Linked DNA regions of Homo sapiens: region 1 is linked to region 2. The links are contacts of gene promoters, found by promoter capture Hi-C in blood cells and fetal thymus (Javierre and others, 2016). All regions are on one chromosome and are shown on one strand. Each heading gives the region's core, a stretch centred on a gene start or on the middle of the fragment in contact. The rest is flanking DNA. Distances are from core to core; before and after follow the strand shown. Region 1 holds the start of ARHGAP31 (Rho GTPase activating protein 31). Region 2 holds the start of LRRC58 (leucine rich repeat containing 58).

What was found. Contacts are between HindIII fragments. The CHiCAGO score rates a contact against its expected background, and 5 or more counts as called.
Region 1: a fragment that was not itself captured here is called in contact with the fragment with the promoter of LRRC58 in region 2 in 1 of 17 cell types (fetal thymus); the score reaches 5.7 in fetal thymus.

What each region holds. Positions count from the first base shown.
Region 1 is chr3:119,293,763-119,298,987 of GRCh38, forward strand. ARHGAP31 (Rho GTPase activating protein 31) reads left to right here and starts at 621. Exons shown (of 12, transcript NM_020754.4): 1 at 621-1,242. The coding sequence starts at 1,143. It also overlaps the pseudogene RPS26P21. RefSeq lists enhancers at 44-93, 3,953-4,022 and a silencer at 934-1,053. The HindIII fragment of the contact is 3,536 bases long and covers 2,208-5,225 here.
Region 2 is chr3:120,346,253-120,351,786 of GRCh38, forward strand. It overlaps LRRC58 (leucine rich repeat containing 58), which reads right to left and starts at 3,102. Exons shown (of 4, transcript NM_001099678.2): 1 at 2,492-3,102. The coding sequence starts at 2,991. It also overlaps the pseudogene BTNL12P. RefSeq lists an enhancer at 2,368-2,417 and a silencer at 2,768-3,097. The HindIII fragment of the contact is 1,696 bases long and covers 2,385-4,080 here.

The DNA of each region.
Region 1 (5,225 bases), core at 2,726-5,225, 1.1 Mb before region 2:
AAGCTGCAGCCTCTCTTTGCCCAGGGGTATCTTTACCCCAGAGTGGGAGGGGAGTGAGCTGAGGTGGGGGTGCACGAACGCTGCAGAGGAGGTTGGGATGGGAGTGGCCGGCGTGAAGCCACTGCCTGTCAGGTTTCTCCGCTGGAGTCCCCTGTTTGTCTCTGTCATTACTCTTTAAGTATTTGCGTAGCAGACAGGCGGGCACCGAAATAGAAAGTGTCAAAGATACGATGACAATGAGGATAAAACCAGGGCAGAGGGTTCTGAAAGTCCCAACCAGCACGGTCCCCGCAGAATGCCAGCGCACCTCCTCCCGCCACTTCAAAGAGCCGGCTCGGCGGGGCAGGAAGCGGCGGCTGCGGCTGCGGGTCCTGCGAGAAGAGCGCGATTTCCTCCGGGGCTGCCCAGTTATCTCTGGAGTCGCAGAACTGCTCTCGGGAGAACGCGTTCTCTACCCCAACCCCGTGCTCCTCAACCCACCCACCTACTTCCTCTAGCTCCACACACTCACAAGCACCGAGCTGCCAAAAATTTCCACCCACCGCCCCCCTCCCTAGCTAACTTCCTTCCAGCATTTCCTGAGCTGGATGATCCTAGGATTTGTAAGACAGGAAAAAAAGGAAGGCGTGAGGGCGGGCAGCAGCGACAGGATGCTTGTTTTTCGCTCTACCAAAGTCGTCTGAAGGCGAGACAGCGGGCCCAGGGCGCAGGACCCACCGCAGCCCCCTGGGCAGTCTCCTCGCCCCGCGTCCGCGTCGTCTCCGGGGCACTTAGTAAGGGGTGGGGAGAGCTTGCCCTCCCTCTTAAGCTGAGGAGAAACACCCGAAGACACCGCAGGAGCCTGTGAAAGTCCCTAGGACTCCAAGTGAGGAAGTGACACTCCCAGGCGAGCCGGCCCGCGGCTGCCAGTCTGCACGGCCTCGGCACGGCGGCCCCGGAGCGGCGCGGGGTGGATCTCAGGCTCTGCCGGCCCGCGGCCCGCGGGGTCCATGCGCAGGGCCCCCAGCCCAAGTTCTTCCATCTTCCGATGCGGCCCCCCAGAGCCGCGGGGCAGCCGGTGATCTAGCCCGGGAGCCCATCTTACAGCGGTGCCAAGCAGAGGGGCGGCAGAGACGGAGGGGCAGCCTCTTTGGGACTAACTCATGAAGAACAAGGGTGCTAAGCAGAAGCTGAAACGAAAGGGAGCCGCCAGCGCGTTTGGCTGTGACCTGACGGAGTATCTGGAAAGCTCGGGACAGGATGGTAATGTGCCTTGGCCTTTCTCCCCCGCCCCCACCTTCTTTTTGTTTGAGGGAGAGACGGACTCTCTCGAGTTGTGATAGAGTCGGTTCACAAGTTAATGTATTCCAGGCCTGTGCGCTCATTGCACTTTTTTTTCTTTTTTTTTTTTAAAGAACATAAACGATTCTTAAGGTGCACAGCGCTGCTGTCCCGACGCGCAGAGGCTGCTGTGTCAGTCCTTCCGTTTGCCTCACACAAGCTGTTAATGGGTGGTACTGCCGCAAGTTTACCGGGCCACCTCAGGGGATGGGGGTGGAAGCTGCAGAGGTCCCAATCCTAAACTTGGCACGTTGGAAGGGAGGGAGGAGGGGTGGACATGTGGGATGGTGATCAGTGGTCTTGCCTGGGTACAAAATCATGACCGCCTTAGCTGTCCCTCCTGGGCTCTCCAATTTCGTCTGCTCACATCTTTTTTTATTAATGTGTTAGAAGGCAGTTGCGGGTGGGGGGTGGGGGAGGATCCTGGCTGGGGGAGTGGTTGCACAAACATTTCTGAATTTCTGAGCTGATGCCAAATATATAGTACCTCCACCCCCTTTCCACAACCCCCTCCCCGCCCTGCAAGACCTTTTCCCTCCTCTTGGCTTTCAGATTAACATTTGGTGTGTCAGACAAGAAGAGTGTTGTAAAAAGGTCAGAGGGCCTCCATTTTTAAATAGTTTAGGGTAAGTAGAGAAAAGGAAAACTTCTCTGTTTTCAAGGTCAGATGGGGGTAGGGGGGAGTTGGGGATGGGGGAATCCAGCGGAGACAATTTAAACATTTGTTGGGGAAGGGGGAAAGAAAACACCATCTAGATTACAATAACAGCGTTTGAGCTTAGAAGTGTTTAATCATAGGAAAGTTGGAAAATTGAGCATTAAATGACTCCTTTTGTAAGGTTGACTGGTTTTGCACTTACCCTTGACAAAAAGGCCTTGTCTTCAGAAGCTTCAGCGAGAGGAAAATAGCCTACTATATAGGCCATGTGTTTATACATAGATAGATACAACAAAGGGGAAAACTAAGGGCTGTGTAACCGTGCGGAATAATTCTGCCTCCAGGAAAATAATCTCAAAACCTATTTGATTAGTCCATATCGAATATGCATTTCAAAAACAGTGCAATGCTTTTGTTTCACTTCTGTGTTTTGGGAGACTCAGCACCACCTAGTAATTTGCAGTGGTGTGATATTCCTGTGGTATTCTAGAGTTCAGTCTGCTGTGTCATTAGGACAAATAGCTTAGGATTTTAGAGCTTGGAGAACCACAGGTTTCAAAACTGACTCTTTTGAAATTGATGCATAACTTAACACTTCATTGAATCCTCACCAACCATCTGGAGAGGTAGATTTGAGATAAAAATCACTTGGTTTGAGTTTTTTTGAGTGTGAGAAAACTCCAAGTATGCCTCTTAACCACTATCGTCAGAAGTTTACAATGAAAGGTTCCTCTTCACCTATTTTTGCAGGGGCCTTCAAGTTAACCTCCAGGTACACTAGGAATGCTCCTGGGATGCCACCTTTCACCATGCGGGTGTTATTCTGGCCCCTCCCTCAAATCTGTGAGAGTTGCATAGGGGTGCTTGCCAGCCCTGTTCGTTCTTACAAACTAATAGATTATAGGATGAGCCAGAACCCCAGGGTTCTATGAAGATATGTCAAAGGCAGCTTTAGGCAGCTGTTCTTTCACCTGCTTTATATTTTGGGCTTCTGCATATGTTTCATTTAGACAAAAAAAAACAGAGACTACTGCTTAAAAGAATGGCAAACCAGTACCCCGGGTTCCCCACCCTGGGGAGGGGGAAAAGAAGCCCAGAGGGGTAAATTGGCCTGCCTGAGGTTGTACAGCTAATCATGAAGGATCGGAGGGCCCTCCCTGGCCTGTTAGGTTCCTCTGCCCTCCCTGGCTTCTGTGTCTAAGCCAACATTCTCTTCTAATGATATTTTCCCCCTAAATTGAAAGCAGACAGCCCTGCTACAGGATCAGCAAACTTTGAAGACTGAACATACCTGATGAGAGTTCAGCTTTGAAAGGAAACGCAACTGACCCACTTAATGATCCACACACTGTTATTGTGCTACACGGAAATTAGACATGCATAATATACTGCTTATGGAAATAAGAGTAATTAGAATTTATTTTTTCCCTCAGCTAAAACTAGTTGGATGGTTTTTTTCTGTGTATTTGTGATAGTGTAGCATCAATGAACAAAGTCAGTGCTAATGGTTTTCTCTAAAGTAATGTTGCTTCTTTGTGGACTCTCCCAAACATGTATTGATTCATAGACAAGGCCTGGACTCTGCTTCTGGGAGGAAAAGCTGAGCTGGGAACTGGCCCTCTGCCCACCACCTTGGAAGATCAGCCCAGAATGCTGAGGGTGACAAGTCAGTGTGGTAACTGGGAGCCAGGGGGCTGGAGAAGGGCTCCCTGGACTGACATCATGGTTACTGAACTTTGAAGGTCAAAGGTGGTGCAGTAGACCTGCATTGAGAGGAAAGATAGGTTCAGGTTTGGGAGTACAAGGGGAGAAGACCAAAGATTTAGGGAGGCAAAGAGAGCTCCTGTCTTTGGACAGGGAAGGAAAGCCTTGAGTTGGAGTGGAGGACAAAGCGGGGTGATGATGAGCTATGCTCAGGGCATCTGAACATGGGGACGCCACATGCTTGAGTGGGAACTTTGGAGAGACAAAGGCTGAAGACAGAATGAATGTCATATGCTTCTGTAATTTGCTGAGGCTCAGCCCTGCTACTTTCAGCTGGACAAACCTGACAAGGCTGGGTGTGTGGTTTACAAATAGGTGTTCAGCTTAGGGCAGACATTGCTCAGGGCCAGTTGTCAACCTTAATCTTTGGGAAGCTGATGAGAAACAGAAACCCTTTCCTTAGAAACACACACACACACACACACACACACACACACACACCGTGTATGCAATTTCTGCAGGTATCTACATAGATGCCAATTTCAGACCCTGCTGTGATCACCCCTCACTGGCTACACAGGGGGGCCTGATATCCAGGACCAATTTTCCCCCTTCTTTGACCACTTTTCTCTAACTTGGTAAGAAGGGAGCAATGAACACTCTTAGCCAGGTAAGAACACTCAAGAATGGCATGAAGTGGCTCCTGGCAGACTTGCCAAGAGCCTCTTGCACTTCCCCTCCAACACAGTGGCTGCTGCCCCCAACCCCCAGCTCTCCCCTGGGAACCAGCTAACTTTCTCTTCCTGTCTGGAATAAAGGGAGATCATCCCTTCCTTACTGCTGCTGCTGAAAATAGTATAGTTTTCTTTTTCTTTTCTTGACCACTGAATAAGAAGGCCCTTGCTTGCAGCTGTATAACGAAAACCACATCATGTTGCTGTCTGTGGTTGGGAGGTTGTGGGTGAAGCTCTGCGAGGTCATAATGTGCCCATGGTTGTTTCCTACCTCTCCTTCATATGCCAAGTGTTCTGGGTCTTCTATTAGAGCTTGGAGATGGTTGGGGCCAGGAGCCAAGAGACAAGTAAGAGAGAGTTATAGGGAAAATTATCTTCTTCCTCTGGGTTGGCTTTACTTTAATGGCTGAGGATTTTCTTGCTCCTCTGAGCAATCTTTGTTTATTTTACCCACTCCCTGGTAAAAAGTGATACCGAGCTTCCAAGCTGACAAAGAAAAGAAGGGGCGACGATTGTGCCAAAAAGGGCTGCAGCCACGTGCAGCCTGTTCGCTGCACCATCTGCGCCCAATGCCTGCCCAAGGACAAGGCTATTAAGAAGTTCCTCATCCAAAACACAGTAGAGGCCACCGCTGTCAGGGACATTTCTGAAGCAAGCGTCTTCACCGCCTATATACTTCCGAAGTTGTATGTAAAGCTACATTATTGTGTGAGTTGTGCCATTCACAGCAAGGTAGTCAGGAATTGATCTCGTGAAGCCTGCAAGGACCAAACACTCCCACCCTGATTTACATGTGCAGGTGTTGCCCT
Region 2 (5,534 bases), core at 1,852-4,351:
TCTCAAAAAAACAGAAAACAAAAAACAAAAAACAAAAACAAGCAAAAAACCATGACCCTCCAACCCCCCAACAAAGATTCAGGTTCTAGTACTCTGCCACTGTGCAGAACTCAAGGGTTTGGAGTCACAGACCACAGAGGTCAAATACAGTTCCAATGCTTACTAGCCTTGTAATCTTATGACTTAATTTCTCTGAGCTTCAGTTTCTGCCTCTGAAAAATGGGAGCACATCATCTTATGGCATCATTGTGAGTATTAAAAAGCATAGTTAGCACCTATGACAGGATCTACTGCATTGTAAGTATTAAATAAATGGGATTTTTGCCTACTTTTCTCCCCATGTGATGGAAATAATACTTTCCCTGGGTTCCTGTTAGTATATTAAGAAAATTCCAAGGCTGGAATTATGCAACATTAAAATTAGAAGGAACCAAGGGCTGTCAATTTTACCTCTAAATCTTTTCTCGAAATCTTCCATTTCTTAGCATTTCTCCTAGTATCAAGCTGGTATAGGCTACCATCATCTCTCATCCTATTACAATGACCTCCTTCAAACCAGCCCTCAAAATCTCTATCTCTTCACCCTCTCCTCACTCCATTCTTGCATAGCAACAAGACACATGCTTAAAACTCTCTCATGTGCACTTAGAATAAAATCCAAACTTTATCATAGCCTTCAAGACCTGACACGGGCTGACTTGCCCAAATTTATATTTGCCACTTTCCCTCTTGCTCACTTCCCAGTACAATGTCCTTCTTTCAGAATTTTAGTAGTTACCCTCCTTGCCTCTGGGCTTTCCCATGTGCCTCTGTCATTTTGTCTCAAGGCATTCTGTAGGTCTTCATAGAACTCATAACCACTGTAATTAAATAATGAGGTTCATAGTTAGTTGTTTAATGTCTGTCTCCTGGATCATGTTCACCATTGTATCCCCAATACTTGGGACAGTGCCTGACACAGGGCAGGTATTCAATAAATATCTATTGAAGAGTAAATGAAGAGACATCTTGCCCAAATGCTTCATTTGTAGATTAGAAAGCTACAGTTAGGATACGCTACAGTTAGGATACAAGTGACTTGCCTAAGGCTGGAGCACCAAGAGTTCTTTTTTCCCAGGCCAATATTCTTTTTTTTTTTTTTTTTTTTTTTGAGACAGAGTCTCGCTCTGTCGCCCAGGCCGGACTGCGGACTGCAGTGGCGCAATCTCGGCTCACTGCAAGCTCCGCTTCCCGGGTTCACGCCATTCTCCTGCCTCAGCCTCCCGAGTAGCTGGGACTACAGGCGCCCGCCACCGCGCCCGGCTAATTTTTTGTATTTTTAGTAGAGACGGGGTTTCACCTTGTTAGCCAGGATGGTCTCGATCTCCTGACCTCATGATCCACCTGCCTTGGCCTCCCAAAGTGCTGGGATTACAGGCGTGAGCCACCGCGCCCGGCCTTCCCAGGCCAATATTCTTTTGCTCCACTTAACTCTGAGGTCCCTTCTACCTTTAACGTTCTGTTATCTCTGAAAATACAATAAAGTGTGAAAATATCTTACAGATGGAAGATACCTCTTTTTCGTTTTGTACAATACATTTGGCTCTATTTCCCACTCCCCCACCGGGCACTTTTATTATCCTGTTTCTCTGCTTCCTCCTAAAGTTAAATTTAACATATTTACTGCATAATCTAGTAGGTGAAGCAGATAATTCCTGTAAACAAGGAATCATATCCAATAAGGTAAATGCAAAGGCAAGATGAATGAAGCACAGAGAAAGTACAGCATAGGCTGTACTTTTTTGTGCAGGGAGTAGTAACGAAAAAAATTGTTGTGCAGGGAGTAGTAAAAAAGGAATCACAGAGATGATTAACTTGAGATAGCTTTTGAAGGATGATAGGCGTTTGCCAGGTGAAGGAAACATTCCAAGCAAGGGAAACAGCACGTGTACAGAGGCACTGCATCCATTCAACACATACTGAGTGCCTACCAGCAACTCCAAGCTGCTTTCTCTACGTGGGAAAATGCATAGGTCACTGAACTCCACAAATGGTAGTTGGTACTGCCACAGAGAAGAGGAAGCTGCAAATGTAGTGGAAAGCAAGGGTTAGATCAGAGCACCTTGTACGCCACGCTCAAAGGCACGTACTTTGATCTATAGAGATGGAAATCCACGGAAGACTTTTGAGCAAAGAAGTGACAACCTCTGATTTACATCTGTTTTGAGTTTCCACTCAGTTTGGATCACGCCCCAGATTCAATAAGGAAGACAGAAAAAATGCCTCGAGAATCTGCATAGGCCAAACACAACACACCAAACAGTCACACATGCGAACATACTAGGTATTTACAACAACTTGCTGAGATGGTTGGGCAGAACTCACTACCGCACAGTTAAAGAGAAAGCTTGGAAATAGTTACGTGACAAACGTTGAGGTGCCCAGGCCCGGCGCCCCAGGGTTCCCGGACACCGCCCGAGGCCTCCCCACCCTCCGGCACACACCCGCTCACCTCTGCAAGTTCTCGATCTCAGCCGGGATGCTCTGCAGTTGGTTGCCGCCCAGGCTCAGGGTCTGCAGCGCGCGCAGCTCTAAGAGCGAGGCAGGCACCTCCTGGAAACAGTTGCCGCTGAGGTTGAGCACCTGGAGGCTGCGGCAGAGCGGCGACTGGGCCAGGCCCTTGGGCAGCGCACTGGGCCCGCCGAGCCGGTTGTTCTTGGCCAGCAGCGTGCGCAGGCCGCGCAGAGCGAGCAGCTCCGGCCCGAGCGCGGTCAACGCGTTGCCGCTCACGTCCAGCAGCTGGAGGTGCGGGAAGCCGCTGCCCAGCGCCCGTGGCAGCGACACCAGACGGTTGTGAGGCAGCAGCAGCCGCAGCAGCGCCTCCCGCGCCCCGCGCCGCTCCTCCCCCCGCGCCTCCAGCTCAGACTCCAGCGTCTCGGTGGACACGCTGAGGCGGGACCAGTTCAGTTCGGCCTCCCCGGCCGTGACCACCGCTGCTCCGGCCTCCTCCATCCTGGCCACCGCACGGCGCGTGGCGCCGGATTCCCCAGAGCGCCGCGCGCGGTCCAGAGGCCGGGAGCTCTGCGGCGCCCCGGAACCTGAACCGAGGGCTGAGTCGGAAGTGGCGCGGGCGGGCGCAAACCCTGCGCGCCTTGGCCGAGTCACGCGACGCGAGTCCTGGGGTGCGCGCGCCGCTCCGGGGCGGGCTCTGCCTCACGAGGCGCGGGGCGCGGAGTGGCAAGAGCGCAGCATGGGCTGCGCAGAACTGAGGCAGACACCCAGAGGCTGCCAAATTGTCATCTGAGCCGGACCGGGTTTCGGCGGCCGCGCTTTATAGTCGCTGGAGCCTGGTGACCTATTCCAGGGCTACAAGACTGCCTCGGCAAACAGCCCAAGGATGTTCGGTTATCTCGCCTTGAGGGTTCGCGCGTCACGTGCCCCCCCCGTCCCCCGCTTGTTTTTCAGTTTAAAAGTGGGGCCCGTGTCTGCAGGACTCTGTGAGCACACAGTAATTTAGTGGTGATTTAGCTCCATGACAGAAAACCGCAGGAATTTAAAGTCCGAGGATTAACAAAGCCGACCTCGAAATGTGAACGCAGCTGGACTAGACCTCAGAACCCCCGGACCCTTACTGGAGGTTCCGCTGTTAAATAGCCTAGGGCAGGGATTTGATTTCAGTTGCCCCATGCATAAAATATGGGTAACACCCGCACTACTTGCCCCACAGAATTATTTTTTTCTTTTTTAAGGCAGAAATGTGTATCAAGTAAGGACGTTTTGCCCGTTTTAATTGTAGAAGCACATACGTGGCTTTTGGTGTAAGTTGTGTCTAGGAGTGAATTTGGGAGATATGGAGGCGGTTGCATGATTTGAGATAGCTCAAATTAATGAGTTAGTTTAAAAACTCAAAGCATAGAGTTTGTACTGCAGGTCAAAACTACAGTTTGGGAAAATCCTGATCTGGTACTAATTTAGTAATTCTAATTAACGTATTTTTCATCCTTGTCCCAAACTCAATCTTTTCTGAAATTACATTTTATGATTTTGAAAAGTAATGAATAGAAATGAGAAAAAATGCTTAGCTTTTTTTTTTTTTAACAAAGCTTATACATAAGAAAGTTAAGTGGTCGTGTATAATCAACGACATTAAATTGCTTTCCTCCTTAAAAAAGGAAAGTCGTTTTTTTCTTGCCAGTCATTTATTTGTATGAGAAACTATGCCTTTACTCTGCAGTCAAACTTTAATTTCTGATTGAGTGGTAGTCCTAGAAGGACGTACTTTGTATGTTTAAGCTAATGGTGGAATGCTTTTTAAAACTGATGAGTCATCTGTTTTGAAAGAGTCCTTTTAAGAACAGACCTTATTTTGGGTCAAGCCAGCATTCTAACAGTAGTCCTAATATCTGAAAATAACAAATATTTAAAATAATAGTTGTTTTTGCTTTAAAATATTTATCTTGGATTTTAAAAAGTGATAGGAACGTAATGTAAAATGAGAAAAAGAAAGGATTCAAACATAATTCAGAAATAAGAGTTGGCCAGGTGCCATGGCTCATGCCTGTAATCCCAGTGCTTTGGCCCAGGCCAGCAGATCGCTGAGGTCAGGAGTTCCAGACCAGCCTGGCCAACATGGGGAAACCCCGTCTCTACAAAAAATACAAAAATTAGCCGGGCCTAGTGGCGCTCGCCTGTGGTGCCAACTACTACACAGGCTGCTGGGAGGATTGTTTCAGCCTAAGAGGTAGAGGTTGCAGAGAGCCATGATTGTGCCACTGCCCTGCACTTTTTTTTTTTTTTGTCTCAAGAAAAATAAAATAAGAGGTAAGATTACAAATCAGTGGAATTAAAGGGAAAAAGATAACCTCAATAATAGCAAATGAGGCTTCCTAGTAGAAAGTTTGGAAAAAAATACTTAGTATGGGAACTCCACATTATATAGAATAAAGGAAAGGAAGTAGAAAAAAAGTGGTGTAGGTAAAGAAATGAGTAACCTGACAAATTTTGAAAACCTACTGCTTGCAACGCTGTACTAGGAGCTTTTAATTTAATAAAGTCTCCAACTATTTGGTTGTTGAATTTAGGATAAATGTAACCAGACCATTGAGCAGCTAAGATAACTGAGAAACTGCTTTCTAAAAGTTGAAAACTGTGTTTCTGCCTCATTGAAGCTATTGGCAAGGAAACTGTAAATTTCAGTGTAAAATGCACATCTCATGTCCAATTAGAGTAGGTTCCTACTTACATAGAATGACTATCTTTATTCATTTTTGGATTCTCCCTCACACCACCACCATCCCCCATTGCCTAGTATGATTTCTTGCAAATAATTTGGATTGACTGAGTTGGATATATCTCTTAGTTAGTGGACTTATTTTTTGAATAATTAGAGTAAATTGTAAAGTCCTTGAAAAGAACTGTCTTATTATTATATACCCATCCCCTAACAGTGCCTGCTCCACAGTAGGTACAGGTACTCTATATCTTTTGAAACACTGAATATATTTGTAAATATTAAGTTTTAGTTGAAAAGGAATTTTTATTTATCAAACACCTTT